Linked DNA regions of Homo sapiens: all the other regions are linked to region 2. Evidence: promoter capture Hi-C in human tissues and cell types (Jung and others, 2019). All regions are on one chromosome and are shown on one strand. Each heading gives the region's core, a stretch centred on a gene start or on the middle of the fragment in contact. The rest is flanking DNA. Distances are from core to core; before and after follow the strand shown.

What was found. The method cuts DNA at HindIII sites, captures the fragments that hold promoters and counts their contacts. A contact is called where the count stands out against the background at its distance.
Region 1: a contact is called between a fragment that was not itself captured here and the fragment with the promoter of MRPS15 in region 2, in 1 of the 25 tissues and cell types used here (stomach).
Region 3: a contact is called between a fragment that was not itself captured here and the fragment with the promoter of MRPS15 in region 2, in 1 of the 25 tissues and cell types used here (stomach).

What each region holds. Positions count from the first base shown.
Region 1 is chr1:36,502,560-36,505,352 of GRCh38, reverse strand. No RefSeq gene overlaps it. Among named protein-coding and RNA genes, the nearest start is that of CSF3R, 21 kb to the right of the region's middle. The HindIII fragment of the contact is 8,891 bases long and covers 1-2,793 here.
Region 2 is chr1:36,462,942-36,465,641 of GRCh38, reverse strand. It overlaps MRPS15 (mitochondrial ribosomal protein S15), which reads left to right and starts at 1,258. Exons shown (of 8, transcript NM_031280.4): 1 at 1,258-1,496; 2 at 1,792-1,836. The coding sequence starts at 1,367. RefSeq lists enhancers at 445-1,346, 1,103-1,352, 752-1,951, 1,347-2,250. The HindIII fragment of the contact is 17,048 bases long and covers 1-2,700 here.
Region 3 is chr1:36,520,024-36,522,723 of GRCh38, reverse strand. No RefSeq gene overlaps it. Among named protein-coding and RNA genes, the nearest start is that of CSF3R, 38 kb to the right of the region's middle. The HindIII fragment of the contact is 7,915 bases long and covers 1-2,700 here.

The sequences.
Region 1 (2,793 bases), core at 178-2,677, 40 kb before region 2:
CAAAGCCTCTCTGAAGGATAGCATCCCCAACTTAGGCACTCAAGATTGCCAAAGAATATACAGTTATCCCTTGGTATCCATGGGGAATTGGTTCCAGGACCTCTACAGATACCAAAATCTGTGGATATTCACGTCCCTTATCTTAAGTGACAGTGGGGTAGGCATGGTGGCTTATGCCTGTAATCCTAGCATTTTGGGAGGCCGAGGTGAAAGGATGATTGGGCTCAGGGGCTCCAGACTAGACTGGACAACATCGTGAGACCCCCATCTCTAAAAAGAAATTAGACCAGGCGCAGTGGCTCATGCCTGTAATCCCAACACTTTGGGAGGCCGAGGCGGGTGGATCAGGAGGTCAGGAGATCAAGACCATCCTGGCTAACATGGTGAAACCCCGTCTCTACTAAAAATACAAAATAAATAAATACATACATACATACATAAGAAGAAATTTAAAATTAGCTGGATGTGGTGGTGTGCACCTGTGCCCCTGTAGTCCCAGCTACTTGGGAGGCTGATGTGGGAGGATCACTTGAGCCTGGGAGGTGGAGGCTACAGTGAGCAACTGTATTGTGTCACTGCACTCCAGCATGGGAGACAGAGTGAGAGTCTGTCTCAAAACAGAACAAAACACCATAGTATTTGCATATAACATACACACACCCTCTCATATACTTTAAATTATCTCTAGGTTACTTATAATACCTAATACAATGCATACACATCACTTTGTTCTAATGGATTCAAAATAGTACTTGGCACACAGGAAAATAGTACTTGGCACACAGCAAGTTCAAGTTTTGCTTTTTGGAACTTAGCGGAATTTTTTTTCCAAGTATTTTCCATCCTCGATGGGTTAAATCCAAGATGCAGAACCCACAGATACAGAGGACCAACTATACATATAAATCCACAATTAAAAAAAAAATCACCAAACACACAAGAGGCAATTGTTAGCAGAAATAACATACAGTAGATATAGATCCCTAAGGATAACAGAAATTGTAATTATCATAATTACAGTAAATGAAATAACTATAATTGAAGATTTTAAAGAAATAAAAAATGAAATCACAAAAGTGATCAAATCACAAGAGATAATTTTTAAAAATAGATCTGGAAAAGAACAGCAGAGAACTTTTAGAAATGAAATAACTTGTTGAAACCAAAAATTCAACAAATGGGTTAAACAGCATATTAGACACAGTTGATGAGACAGAGTGAGCTGGAAGATTAATCTGAAGACATTACACAATTTTCAGCACAGAGACAAGCAAATGGACAATATGAAAGACAGGTTAAAAGCAATAGCAGGTAGAATAAAAGTCCCAGAAAGAGGATAGAGAGAGAAAGAGGGAGAGGCAATATTTGAAGAGATAATGGCTGAGAACTTTCCAGAACTGATGAAAGGCATGACTTCACAGACACTGGGAACGTAACATACATCTAACAACATAAATAAAAGGAAATTCACAGCTAATCACAGTGTGGAGAAACTGCATAACACCAAAGACAGAGATCTTAAAAGCAGCCACACAGAAAAGACATGCCACCCACAAAGGAAGGATAATTAAATGACAGCACACCTCTCAAAAGCAACAGTGAAAGCCAGAAGACAGGGACGAGCTTCAAAGTTCTGGGAGAAAATAACTGTCAACCTAGAATTGTGAACTTAGCAAAACCATCTTCCAAAGCTGACGGTGAAATGGAAACATCTGGATTTTTTTCAGAGAAAGAAAAGCAAAAAGCATTTACCAACAACAAATCTTTACTGAAGAATATGCTACAAGAAAAAGGGAAATTACCCCAGAAGGAAGGACTGGTATGCACAAAAGAATAGTAAGCAAAGAAATTGATAAACAAATAAATCTATACAAATATTATATAAAATAATGACAACAGACGGGAACAGTAAGGAAATAATTCAAAAACTGCACCAAAAAGAGAGTATGTAAACCTGTAGGGGAAGATCACAGCCAAAGGGTTCAAAGTTCAGTCTATTATTTAGGAAGGTGGTTGAGAAACTCATAATCTGAGATTTCTTTAGGTATGCAGGATAGAATTTCAAAAGCAATCAATAGAATCTATCTATTTCAACAGAAATATAGAAGCAATCTATCTATTTCAATAGAAATATACAAGTAGGGTATATAAATTCCAAATCAATAAAGGAGGTAGAAAAGCATAGAGTAAGAAAATAAACAAACTCAATAAATCCAAAGGAAGAACCAGTAGGAAGAGAAAGAATAGGGGGAGGGGGAATAGGATAAGAAAGATAACAAAAATAACTCGAGATGTATCTATAATCACAATAAACTAAAAGTCTATGTGTGCTATTTAAAATACATATTGTTAGATTGGATTTTTTAGAATCCAGCTCTATGCTGCATATGGTGGCATATCTAAAACACTGAAACATAAGGAGATAGATTGAAAGACCACACAAACACTAATCAAAAGAAAGCTGGAGGCCGAATGCAGTGGCTTACACTTGTAATCTCAGCACTTTGGGAGGATGAGGTGGGAGAATTGCTTGAGGCCAGGAGTTTGAGGTCAGCCTGGGCAACATAGCAAGACCCCCATCTCTACAATAAAAAATAATTAGCAGGCATGGTGGTGTGTGTCTATAGTTCCACCTACTCAGGAGGCTGAGGTGGAAGGGTTATTTGAGCCAAGGAGTTTGAGGCTGCAGTAAGCCATGATCACACCACTGCACTCCAGCCTGGGTGACAGAGCGAGCGAGATCCTGTCTCTAAAAAAAATTTACGACATTTTTTAAAAAAGAAAGCTGGGAGA
Region 2 (2,700 bases), core at 9-2,508:
TCACAAGGGTAGAAAAGAAAGAAAACAGTGTTATTATTGAATAAGCATTAAACCGGAATGTGATACACTGGTGATCCACTAAAGAGACTGCAAAGAGACAAAAATCTTACTCTTTTATGTAGCAAAGTGAATACAACTTACTGTATCCATTTTCTCAAGATAAACAATAACTGGTCCTCAAGCAAGAGGACTTGGCTGCACCTCACTCTAAATTTACCTGGTAAGTGGGAAGCCACCTGTGTCTGCTAATTGCCTTTATCCAAAGGAAAAATCGATTTCCCCTATCTTTATAACAAAGGGTAGGTTGCAACTAAGAGCTAGGCACCAACTGAAGTTAGGCTCCTACCCTCCCACAGGAACTGAGAGAGAGCACTATCTTCCTTAATTATTACATTTCAAAGGGTTGGCCCCCAGGTCCTTGAGAAAAACATTCCGGGGTTGTAAAACTGGCAAGAGGTTTATTTACCTTTTAAGAAGATTTACATTCATCGCAAAGCAGTAGAGAAAGTATTCACAATTACAAGTTTTCTAAAGTAAATGCTCTCAGAAAAGTGAGGGGAAGGAGTCTTTTCCCTTTTTGCGCCAGGGAAAATTAAATTTTCTTTTTCTTCTAATTTGTATCCACCCTTACACCACTCATTTCACAAATAACGTCACCGTAAAGATTTACTAAATGCTCACTATATACCAGGTGGTCTGCATACAACTCAGTTAATCCTCTCAACAACCTAAAAGAGAGATATTGTTATTACTATCCCTACAGGGCCCACATAGGTTAAGTGACTTGCCCACAAGATCACATGTTGAGTAAATGGCTGAGTTAGGATTCCAGACCAGGACTGTGCGATTCCAAACTCAGCGACTTTAGTCTCCAGGCTACGAGGCTGCCAGAGACATGGCTGAAACCCAGTAGTAGTTCTTACACGGTCCCATCCTTGTCTAAGGGAGGGGTGAGGTGGGGTGGAGAGGGGATTGGGTTGGGGGTAGAAGGCTACCGCAGGCGCCATGGACCTCCCAAAATAACCCTGGCCCGAGGGCCAGGAATGAGATTAAGGACGGAACGCATGCCCTCCAAAAAGTGGCATTTTAGAATTTATACAGCACCCCAGCACGCTGCTAAACGTGGGCACACAACCACCACGGCCCGATCACGCGCAGCGGGAACCCGGTCTCTGAGCTCCGCCCCGTGCGTTGCGTCATCAGAGTCACGCCACCTAATCCATTCTCTCGGTCTTCGTCTGCTCCGGTATTGCAACTGCCTCGATTGGTCGATCCTGGGCCAGCATGGCGGCGCCCATGTAACCCGGTCCGTGCCGCAAAGCGAACGGCGGCCGCGGCGCGGGCCCCGCGGGGGTTAGAGGTCACCATGCTGAGGGTCGCGTGGAGGACGCTGAGTTTGATTCGGACCCGGGCAGTTACCCAGGTCCTAGTACCCGGGCTGCCGGGCGGTGGGAGCGCCAAGTTTCCTTTCAACCAGTGGGGCCTGCAGCCTCGAAGTGAGGAGCTGAGAAATGGGACGGCGGGCGTAGGGAAACAGGGTTCGGCGAAGATAGGGAATAAGGAAGCACAGGAGTAGGGGAGATATACAGCGGTCAGGATAAGGGGGAAAGGGCGGTGGTTGCGCAAGAGGTGAAACAAGATGTGAGAGACAAGGGGTAGGGAAGAAATGGGGCAGCGGTTAGGTTCAGAAGCGCATAGACCGTGGCGGACGGGCAATGCGAGGGGCACAGAAAGGAACTGAGGGGTGGGCTATTTAAGGAGATGGTCCTCAGCCCTCTCTTTTCTGCGTAGGTCTCCTCCTCCAGGCCGCGCGCGGATATGTCGTCCGGAAACCAGGTAGGAGTTCCTAAGGTGGGACTTGGGGCGGAAGAGAGACCTCCTGGAAGGCTGGGGTGGGTAAGGGGACCGATGTGGCGAATTAGAGCCACTAGATGAGGTGAGCCAGAGGTCCTGAGCAAAAGACCCCACGTCCACCTTACACAAAGCCCTAGGCCTGCAGCCTGTATGGGGACAGAGGGGTGTGAAGGGCGGGAGCAGGAGCTTTCCAGGTGAATGAGTGAAAATGAGCTTCCCAGAGGGAGTGCATGGCTGGCACCACCCAGGCCTACCTAGAGTATGGCACTTTGTGTCTGCGCTTCTGAGATGCAGGATGTAATTTCCCATTGCAACTCAGTATGCATAGTAGTTAAGATCCTTCTTATTAGGTAAATGATATGGGGCAAGGTACTTCCTCTCTCTGATTCTTATTTCTAAAATGAGTGTGAAAGTATCCATTTGCAAGGATTGTTAGGATTCAGCGATAATACACGAAAAGCACCCTTAACGCTGTGCTCAATTAAATATATTGATAGTATATATTAGAATTTATTATCTGGGGCCGGACGCGGTGGCTTACGCCTGTAATCCCAACACTTTGGGAGGCCAAGGTGGGCAGATCACTTGAGTTCAGGAGTTCGAGACCAGCCTGGCCAACATGGTGAAACCTCGTCTCTACTAAAAATACAGAAAAAAATTAGCCAGGTGTGGTAGCGCGCGCCTGTAATCCCAGCTACTCAGGAGGCTGAGGCAGGAGAATCGCTTGAACCTGGGAGGTGGAGGTTGCAGTGAGCCGATCGTGCCACTGCACTCCAGCCTGGGTGACAGAGCGAGACTCCATCTCAAAAAAACAAAAAAGAAAGAAATTATTGGCTGGACATGGCC
Region 3 (2,700 bases), core at 111-2,610, 57 kb before region 2:
AGAGGTGGTGTTTGGCTCCATGGGTGCTGGAAGCAGGCCGGGCACTGAGCAAGCACTTTCCACGGCACGCCACACCCTCTGTGCAGGGCCATGGTAGCCTGCCCTGCTATTTGGGGAGAATTTAACAAGGCACCCCTGGCCTAACTATTAGAATGAGGTGCCACCTGGGAGGGCACATGGCTTAACGAGCAGAAGGCACTTTTGTGATTGAAAAAAAAAGAAAAAAGTGTCCTGTCAGCCCCTAACCAGAGCCCTAAGCAGTGCCCTGACTTTGTGGAAGCTGTTACTACCTCCCTGAGATCATGGCTAATGAAGTTAGCAGGTGTGGGATTTGAACCCAGGTCTCCAGAGCTAAGGCTCATGCAGACAGCTCTGCAACCTCCAAATCTGCAGCCAGATATGCATGCATGAGTGTGCGATACACGCATAAACCAAGCGGAGGGTGCTCAGGGGCTCGGGCCTCACAGGGAGACTCGGCCCTCTCTTGAGCGGTCTCCCAATCTTAGGAGAAACATCCCCACTCAAGGGAGCCCCGGAGAGGAAGGCAGAACTCTGCCCTCTGGAGACCCAGTCTGAGGGGGGAGACAGGGCCCTGTCCTGAGAAAGCCCAGTCTGAGGGGGGAGACAGGGCCCTGTCCTGAGAGAGCCCAGTCTGAGGGAGGAGACAGGACCCTGTCGTGAGAGAGCCCAGTCTGAGGGAGGAGACAGGACCCTGTCCTGAGAGAGCCCAGTCTGAGGGGGAAGACAGGACCCTGTCCTGAGAGAGCCCAGTCTGAGGGAGGAGACAGGACCCTGTCCTGAGAGAGCCGGGTCTGAGGGGGGAGACAGGACCCCGTCCTGAGAGAGCCCAGTCTGAGAAGGGAGACAGGTCCCTGTCCTGAGAGAGCCCAGTCTGAGGGAGGAGACATGGCCCTGTCCTGAGAGAGCCCAGTCTGAGAGGGGAGACAGGGCCCTTTCCTAAGAGAGCCCAGTCTGAGGGAGGAGACAGGGCCCTGTCCTGAGAGAGCCCAGTCTGAGGAGGGAGACAGGGCCCTTTCCTGAGAGAGTCCAGTCTGAGAGGGGAGACAGGGCCCTTTCCTGAGAGATCCCAGTCTGAGGGAGGAGACAGGGCCCTGTCCTGAGACAGCCCAGTCTGAGGGGGGAGACAGGGCCCTTTCCTGAGAGAGTCCAGTCTGAGAGGGGAGACAGGGCCCTTTCCTGAGAGATCCCAGTCTGAGGGAGGAGACAGGGCCCTGTCCTGAGACAGCCCAGTCTGAGGGGGGAGACAGGACCCTGTCCTGAGAGAGCCCAGTCTGAGTGCATATGACGGGGATGGGACACAGCCCTACTCTGGGCACTCCACCTGAAGAGAGCGATGAGACAATGGTGAAGGGATGGAGCCCTGCCAGGTCCCCTCTGCCCTTCACTCCTCACAGGCTGTGGAAGCCGGTTCTCCCGAGTCTTCCAGGCTGTGGTCAGGATGAGTGTCTTCAGCCCCAGGGTCTCACAAGGGAGAGCCAGGCAGAGAGGCAGGAGCCAGCACGGGGCTGTCACTCAGCCACACAGCTCCCCAGGGAACACTTTACAGCTTCACCTATTCTGCGTCGCCTGCTTGACGGAGCATCCAAAGCAATTCCAGGACTGTATTTCATTGTCACATTTATTTGCAAGGGGTGTCAGTCAGGCCCCAGAAGCCAGCGGCCCTGCTGCTCCTTGCATTTTGTCACATGTAAACACACATAGGCCCACACTCACTGGCACCCACCTTCAGGTACACCTCGAAACACACAGAGGACACCCAGAAACACAGAGTCATTGCACACATCATGGACATGCCAACTTGGGGTCTGTGAATCAGGGCTACCACATTGCACAATTCCAGGGGGCACCATTCATATATCACTGTTATATATATGGTCATTTATATGCACACAGCATGGTTCAGAGTGTCCCTTGTGCACGCGCACAGACACAAACACACACACACACAGAAGCACACCCTCAGTCACAAACAGATTCCTAGAGAGCCACAGGCCTCAAGCTAAGGGCACCACAACCAGGTTCTTCCCAGGCAGGCTGGCGGGAGACCCACCACACTCCCAGCCTCCTGGAGCCCGTAAGATCAGGAGACAGGAGCAGGAAAAGACTGGGGAGTTCTCAGAAGCCCCTCTCCACACCCCATAAGTTTCTGGAACTGAGAAGGCCCTGCTACCCACCCCCTAACACACATACACACACAGACACGGAGCAGGAACCTCTCCAGCCTCTGAGTGGAAGCCGAACCATTAGCACTAATTACCACCCTTGTTGGGAAAGGGATTTAATTAACTCTCCGCTGGGGCTCGGAGGGGAGCCAGGGACCAAGGCAGGCCTGCTGAGGCTGGGCCTCTTCCTCCATCCTGTGGCTTTTCAGGTTTGGGGGAAGAGCCTTGGGAGAGGGGGTGGGAGGCGGTCACAGGTCTGTACATCTGAATATGTCCTGACACCCATCACACACATTCCAATTATGCATGCATGTGCACAGACACACCTGGAAGTAGCCACACACCTGTGACCCCACACTTAAAAACTGATGATGGGCTGGGGCACAGTGGCTCACGCCTGTAATCCCAGCACTTCAGGGGGCCGAGGCGGGCGAATCACATGAGGTCAGGAGTTCGTGAACAGCCTGGCCAATATGGTGAAACACCGTCTCTACTAAAAGTACAAAAATTAGCCGGG